2 separate regions of the Homo sapiens genome follow, and region 2 is linked to region 1. Evidence: promoter capture Hi-C in 16 types of primary human blood cells and fetal thymus (Javierre and others, 2016). All regions are on one chromosome and are shown on one strand. Each heading gives the region's core, a stretch centred on a gene start or on the middle of the fragment in contact. The rest is flanking DNA. Distances are from core to core; before and after follow the strand shown. Region 1 holds the start of C12orf50 (chromosome 12 open reading frame 50). Region 2 has its middle 76 kb from the start of NTS.

What was found. Contacts are between HindIII fragments. The CHiCAGO score rates a contact against its expected background, and 5 or more counts as called.
Region 2: a fragment that was not itself captured here is called in contact with the fragment with the promoter of C12orf50 in region 1 in 3 of 17 cell types (M0 macrophages, endothelial precursors and M2 macrophages); the score reaches 8.7 in M0 macrophages.

Annotation. Positions count from the first base shown.
Region 1 is chr12:88,028,013-88,032,135 of GRCh38, forward strand. It overlaps C12orf50 (chromosome 12 open reading frame 50), which reads right to left and starts at 1,389. Exons shown (of 13, transcript NM_152589.3): 1 at 1,328-1,389. The HindIII fragment of the contact is 7,634 bases long and covers 1-4,123 here.
Region 2 is chr12:85,947,756-85,952,024 of GRCh38, forward strand. No RefSeq gene overlaps it. Among named protein-coding and RNA genes, the nearest start is that of NTS, 76 kb to the left of the region's middle. The HindIII fragment of the contact is 520 bases long and covers 1,305-1,824 here.

The DNA.
Region 1 (4,123 bases), core at 139-2,638:
TACTTAACTCATACTCTCTGTGCTTCAGTTTTCTCATCTGTATACAGGAAATAAAAACTACTTTCCTTACAGGTTAGCTGTAAAAATGATGTGATATAAGGTATTGTGAGCTATTATTATTATTTATTCATTTAATTATTTACTGGTAACTTACTCATTAGCCACTCTGCTAAGTACTTGGGGATACAGCAGTGAAATAGACAAAACACTCTGCCCACCTGGGACATGAAATCTGTTATTATTCTTTATTATCCTAGCATTTAATCTAACAGGTAATAGAAGTGAATCCAATTTCTGTGGTCAGAGAGGTTGACTCCATTCAGGTTTCCTAACAGAGAGGAAACACTTGAAACCAGACATATCATCTTTTTCACTGGATTATTTCTTGCATGAGCACAAAGCTCCAAATATTGAGTTTCTACCTTTATCTGGTTTTACTAAGATCTATACATCCTAATACATTGGAGGAATTCTCAGTTTTTCCCATTTAACTTTATAAAGTTTAATTTATATGTGGCCAATTTGTTTATATTAATTTTCTTTTTTAATGATATTTAAATATTTGTTATTACTTAGACTTTTGACAGAGGAAAATTCAGTAATTGGGTTAATAAATTTCAAATAGGAAAACAGATTTATTACACTAAGATTGACACTTACCTGAATTCAACTATTTGAATTATAATGACTGGAATCATATTAACTAAAACAATATCTTGTAACCTATGATGTTTTAATATTAGGAATTTAATGTCTCAAGGTGTCATAATATAGGCAAAAGTGCCACATGAAGATTCAAAAGCTATAGACATATAACTGGTATATATAAGGGTAGTTTCAAACAAATAATAATTTTAAATTATCTCAGATTTCTTCAGAGAAATTCAGTATGTCAAAAATACATGATAAGCTGTTACTCCAGATTTTACAAATATAAGATATCTTGCAAGAAAATAGTAAATTTTTGTTCAGCAATACAAGTTATTGCCATATCTCCCTTCATTCTACTAAAAAGATTAAGCATGTGAAGTACTGTCAATTGTACAATATTTACCTTTATGCATGTGGAATTAAAAAAGAAATAGCAGTCATTCCCAACTTCTGCCATTTTCAACTCTCTTGCTGCTAATCCAATGGTTTTTTTTTTTTGAAAAATATATATGAATTTCAGGAATGCAAATACAAGAACTATCAGTGTGTAAGGGGGAAAAATAATTTCTTTTCCACAGTCTTTCAGGCTATCAGTAGTATTCCTTTAAAACTGACCTCCTGTTGACAGTATATTACGCAATAGATAATTCTTAAAGACATTTAAATTAGAAGATACCTTCTCTAGCTTTGCAGAAACGCTGAAAGTGGTTGCTAGTAAGCACACAAACTCAAACTTCTAGAATTTTCCTCATTGTTACCTAATCCATTGTTTGCTCATCATAAATGACCTCACATGTAACTGCAGGCCAATGTTCACTCAGGTAAACTACAGTTTACCTGAGTGAACACTGTATTTCCCTTACTCAGTTTTAGCATATTAACTACAAAGGACTAGCAAAAATAAAATAGCATACTTTAATCTTTCAATGTTCTCGTTGAATATGGACTATAAACTAGTTTATACTTTTATAATAGAAAGTGATAAGTATTTCACAAGTAAACAGCTATTTCTAAATCTTCGTTTCTATAGAGGTTTTGGGAATAACACTAAAAATTTGCCATAGGTAAATGAGCTACTCATATTCTAAGATAATAAAAACAATTATTTAAATATGTACTCTCTACTATCCATTGATTTGGGAAAAATCATATTCAAATTGTGATATATTAATAGGTACCTGAAAATATATTGGGCTACTTATTCATCTTGTGGCTATATTCCATTTATTTTTCATCCATCATAAAAAGAGGAATATCTTCTTCCTATAGCAGAAAGTTTCCAGAGTGCTTGAAGGCTTTGAGAATTTGTTGAAAACAAGGGAAATACTCTGATTTCCAGAATGAAACATTTCAATCAGCAGTTATTTATATCTTCCTCTTAGTATCTTTAATCAAATAATTAAAACCCAGCAGAAATTAATAAAAAATATTCCTCATAAATGTATTAGTCCGTTTTCATGCTGCTGATAAAAGCATACCCAACTGGGAAGAAAAAGAGGTTTAATTGGACTTACAGTTCCACATGGCTGGGGAGGCCTCAGAATCATGGCAGGAGGTGAAAGGCACTTCTTACACTGCGGTGGCAAGAGAAAATGAGGAGAAAGTAAAGGTAGAATCCCCTGATAAACTGATCAGATCTTATGAGACTTATTCACTATCATGAGATTAGCATGGGAAAAACCCGTACCCATGATTCAATTACCTCCCCCTGAATCCCTCCCACAACATGTGGGAATTCTGGGAGATACAATTCAAGTTGATATTTGGGTGGAGACAGAGCCAAACCATATCATTCCACCACTTGTCCCTCCAAACTTCATGTCCTCACATTTCAAAACCAATCATGCCTTTCCAATAGTCCCCCAAAGTCTTAACTCATTTCAGTATTAATCCAAAAGTCCACAGTCCAGTGTCTCATCTGAGACAAGGCAAATCCCTTCCACCTATGAGTCTGTAAAATCAAAAACAAGCTAGTTACTTCCTAGATACAATGGGGATACTGGTATTGGGCAAAGCCACTGCAAGTGGGATAAGTTGGCCAAAACAAAGGAGTTACAGGACCCCTGCATGTCCTAATTCCAGCAGGGCAGTCAAATTTTAAAGCTCCAAAATGATGTCCTTTGACTCCAGGTCTCACATCCAGGTCATGTGGATGCAAAAGGTGGGTTCCCATGGTCTTGGGCACTCTGACCCTGTGGCTTTGCAGGGTACAGCCTCCCTCCTGGCTGCTTTCACAGGCTGGCATTAAGTGTCTGTGGCTTTTCCAGGTGCATGGCACAAGCTGTCAGTGGAGCTACCATTCTGGGGTTTGGAGGATGGTGGCTCTCTTCTAAAAGCTCCACTAGGCAGTGCCCCAGGAGGGACTCTGTGTGGGGGCTCCAGCCCACATTTCCCTTCCACACTGCCCTAGCAGGGGTTCTCCATGAGGTCCTTACTTCTGCAGCAAACTTTTACCTAAGCATCCAGGTGTTTCCATACATCTTCTGAAATCTAAGTGGAGGTTTCCAAACCTCAATTCTTGCCTTCTGTGCTCCTGCAGGCTCAACAGCAATGTGGAAGCTGCCAAGGCTTGGGGCCTGCACCCTCTGAAGCCACAGCTCGAGCTCTATGTTGGCCCCTTTCAGTCATGGCTAGATTGGCTGAGACACAGGGCACCAAGTCCCTAGGCTACAGATGGCACGGGGACCCTGGGCCTAGCCCATAAAACCACTTTTTCCTCCTGGGCCTCTGGGCCTGTGATGGGAGGGGCTGCCGTGAAGGTCTCTGACATACCCTGGAGACATTTTCCCCATGGTCTTGGGGATCAACATTAGGCTCCTTGCTACTTATACAAATTTCTGCAGCTGGCTTGAATTTCTCCTCAAAAAATGGGTTTTTCTTTTCTACTGCATCATCAGGCTGCAAATTTCTAAACTTTCATGCTCTGTTTCCCTTTTAAAATGGAATGCTTTTAACAGCACCCAAGTCACCTTTTGAATGCTTTGCTAAGCATTCAATCTTCCAGATTCAGCAATACCAGATACCTGAAATCATCTCTCAGGTACTTTGTTCAAAGTTCCACAAATCTCTAGGGCAGGGGCAAAATGCTGCCAGTCTCTTTGCTAAAATATAACGAGAATCACCTTTGCTCCAGTTCCCAACAAGTTCCTCATCTCTGTCTGAGACCACCTCAGCCTGGACCTTATTGTTCATATCACTATCAGCATTTTTGTCAAAGCCATTCAACAAGTCTCTAGGAGGTTCAAACTTTCTCACATTTTCCTGTCTCTTCTGAGCCCTCCAAACTGTTCCAACCTCTGCCTGTTACCCAGTTCTGAAGTCACTTCCACATTTTTGGGTATCTTTTCAGCAACACCCCACTCTACTAGTACCAATTTACTGTATTAGTCTGCTTTCACACTGCTGATAAAGACTGGGAAGAAAAAGAGGTTTAATTGGACTTACAGTTCCACATGGCTAGAGAGGCCTCAGA
Region 2 (4,269 bases), core at 315-2,814, 2.1 Mb before region 1:
AACTTCCCAAGGACCCCTTTTCCTTTCTATCTGCCTAAAATACTTTCTTAATAACTCCTACAATAATATTAATCAAGATTACCTTTAGGTCATTTTTCATGCTTTGTAGGAAAAACAGGTGCATGCTGATTCACCATATTGATCTTGCTTATTTAGCTAGTGGGCTGTATCATAGCACTTATTCAGATTACATGAATATGGGAAAAAAATAGAAATGAATGCATCTGTTTTTCTGTCAGATCATTGGTATATTAATTGAATTAATTAGTAATAAAACTTGGTTATGATTTAATTGTTGTTATTGTTATCCTCAGTATACCACTGACTTCAAGTTTCTCCAGCAGTGAACTGTATTACTTTGAATTTAGTGTAGGGCTTGTAGTGCTGCGAGTGTTTTCTCAGTGTCCCTACTTTACTTCAGTTATCAATAGTATCTTCATGCCTATATCAGCCACTGCACTACATCGGTCTCTGGCACTTCTGCATATCTTGTGAGTAGAGGCACTGGCAGACTTTTTTTTCCAACTGCGTTTTCTTGGATATTTGTATAGCCAACAGCCTTGGAGGACTGGATGTCCTCCAAGGACAGATTTGCTTACTGTTTAGTATAATAAAGTTTCCCTTTTATGCAGCCCATTTTTAAAGATTGAAGTTTCCTAAGCTCAACATTCCTCATCTGTGAGACAAACCCACTGCATGTGTAGGATTGACCAGGTTGCTCCATGTATTCTTCATGAGACTTGGAGCGGAGGGAGAGCAAGGGCAAGGGCAACCATTAAAATGAAACAAATACTGTTTGTTGTTCTGGGAGTAATAAAGTTCTTTGGCTCTAACCCAGGAGTCTCATATCTTCTGTTAGCATCCATAAAACTGTAGCATGCTTAACTAGCTTGCTTGATAGTAAAATCTCAGAACTTCTAAACTTTTTTTTTTTTCTTTGGAGACAGGGTCTCACTCTGTCACCCAGACTGGAGTGCAGTGGCTCGATCTCGGCTCACTGCAACCTCCGCCACCCAGGATCAAGTGATTCTCCTGCCTCAGCCTCTGGAGAAACTGGGATTACAGGCACACTCCAGTACCTCCTGGCTAATTTTTGTATTTTTAGTGGAGACAGGGTTTCACCATGATGGCCGGGCTGGTCTTGAACTCCTGACCTCAAATAATATGCCTGTCTTGGCCCCCCAAAGTGCTGGGATTACAGGCGTGAGCCACTGCGCCCAGCTGAACTTCTTTATTTCTTTACATACTTTATGCCCTTGCCCTTCTCCCAGCATTAAACTGCTGTTGCTTGTTAGGGGCTGCTAAGCTTATTGCAGTAGCAGAGAGAGTATTTTGTTGTTGTTGTTGTTGTTTGTTCGTTTTTGCCAAGATCTAGCTCCAGCACTGCTGCCCTTCCTCTCCGGGGAAGCCAAACAGTACCTTGTATTATTTCTGGTTGATTTTGGGCAGGGGAGTCTCCTATTCCTGCCTCAGTGGTAGTAGATCACAGTTTGTTATTGTTGTATGATTCTTTACCCAAGAGAGTTTCTTGGCCTTTCAGCCAATGAAAATATGTATTTATCTTCAGCTCTTCAGTTTCACTGGGTTTTTTGCAATGTCTGGAGAGCCAGAGGCTTTTCCCTACCGGAGAGGCAATTTTGTTTCTGCTCTTCCATAGAAGCAGTGGCTCTTTGCATATTATCTGGTGGCAAAAGAATTAGTTGCCTTCCTCCAGGGCTTAGGATTTTTGCATAAGAAGGAAGTATCCATTGAAGTGGGCAGGTTTCCTTTTCCTGAATCCCCACAGCAGACAAATGCTATTTGCACATTTGCAACACTAAAAGAAGCTTTTCCTGTTCTTTTGTATTACCTTCAACTTTCTAGTGAGCACCTAGTTGCAAACTCCCCTTATGTCTGGGAATCTCAGCTATTGAGAATCGACATTTTCATGCAAACTTGGCCTTTAATAATTTGTTTAATTTTTAGCTGATTTTTTTCTTTCATGGGCATGTAGTGGTCATCTCTTTCTCCCATGTCCTACAGAAGGTTAATGTGTCTATATTTCCTTTTGGAGCTCCATTTTCCTGGTTGCTTTCTGTTCTCTTCTCTCTGATGGATTCACAAAAAGTTATGATTTGTGTACATTATCCAGATTCTTCTCATTTTTCAATTGAGTGCAACATTATTTAATAGATTTCTACAATTCTAAATGGAAGCATTTTCTAATATTTTTAAAATTGATAACTGTATATAAATAGTTGCATTTGAGTGACCAAGAGTAGTAGCTAGAGTATTTCCATTTATACCTCACTTCCACAAGGTATATACAGATTAATTCCAGCATAAAGAAGGCTATTTCCAAACCTCTTAATGCAGAGTTTAATTTAACATTGTTTTAAGTATTTAGTGAAGCAAATAGCTACTTCAGTATGTGTCTATCAACCTAAAAACATAATGAAGAAGTAAGTACTGAATATAGTAGCTCGTCTTTTGTTCTTTATATTAATTACCTGAATAATGTAAATCAGGTAATGTTATACACAGATGGGTATTTTCTAGGTTTTCTTCTAGGATTTTTATAGGTTGAGGTCTTACTTTTAAATTGAGTAAATTTTTGAGTTAATTTTTGTATATGATGATAGGTAGAAGTCCAATTTCATTCTTATGCATGTCGATAGCCAAGTAATTCTGATGCCATTTATTGAATAGGGAGCACTTTCCCCATTGCTTATTTTTGTCAACTTTTTTGAATATCAGATGGTTGCAGGAGTGTGGCTTTATTTCTGGATTCTTTCTTCTGTTCCTTTGGTCTATGTGCCTATTTTTGTACCACTGCTATGCCGTTATGGTTACTGTAGACTCATAGTATAGTTTGATATAAGGTAATGGGATGCTTCCGGATTTATTCTTTTTGCTTAGATTGCTTTGGCTATTTGGGCTCCTTTTTCTTTCCATATGAATTTAGAATAGTGTTTTCCAGTTTCTAAAAACTGACATTGATAGTTTGAAGGAATAGCATGAATCTGCAGATTGCTTTGGTCAATATGGACATTTTAACAATATTGACTCCTTCAATACCTGAGCTTGGAATGTTTTCCCATTTGTTTGTTTCATCGATGATTTCTTTCACTAGTGTTTTGTAGTTCTCCTTGTAGCGTTCTTTCATCTCCTTGGTGAGATGTATTCCTAAGGTTTTTGTTGTTTGTTTGTTTTCTGGTGGTGACTATTGTAAATGGGATTGGGATTGTGTTATTGATTTCGCTCTCAGTTTGAATGTGATTGGTGTATAGAAATGCAACTGTTTTTTTAATGTTTATTTTGTATTCTGAAAATTTATTGAAATTGTTTGTCAGTTTCTAGGAGCCTTTTGATGGAGTCTTTAGGGTTTTCTAGGTATAGAATCACAACATCAGCAAAGAGATAGTTTAACTTCTCTTCCTATTTGGATACCTTTTATTTCTTTCTCTTGCCTGATTGTTCTGGCTAGGACTTCCAGTACTATGTTGAATAGGAGTCCTCTCCAATGTCTTAAACATTCTTAAACCATTGAAATAAGGTTAAAATTAACTCTTAGAAATGTTTGAACAGAAAAGTAAATAAACATAGATAGATTTGAGGAATGTGTAGGAGAACCAAGAAGGTCACACAAACCTTATTGTATGGGGCAGGGGTGGAGGTGGTGATGGTTATGGAATGAGGAGCTCCAGTAACTCTGGAGACCTGTCTTTTCAATTTCCTACAAGGAGAGTCATTGTCCATTCTGAGGTACAAACCCACCTATTCCAGAACACTTGTATCATAACACATGCCTTTGTAATTAGCAAGAATGAGATTATATTTAGTAGATTTTAAGAAAAGGATAAACTATTGTCTTTTAATTATGTTGAAAAATAGACTGTACTTGGTAAGTTAATGAAAAATAAATATTCTTATTCTAGAAAATGGTGCAGTAAATAAATTTTACGATAATTCTAAAACAGACACATTTCTCCTACTCTTAGGATTATAATATCCATTATTGAAATTAAAAATTACAAATAGTTGATTCCTGTTGTGACAAACGAGCTAGAAGAGAATTACTTCTAGCTAGAAGAGTTTTTCTAGTTTTTTATATAACCTAACAGAAAAACCCCAAAGGCTTGATGGGAGGATAATAAATATGAATAAAACGTGTAAATCAAACACAAACATTTAAAATATATATTTGTGGGAAAAGAAAGCTAGAAAGATAATAATTCATTGAGTGAAATTAGTACCTTCATGTTTGCCTGGCTTATTATTTGCATTATA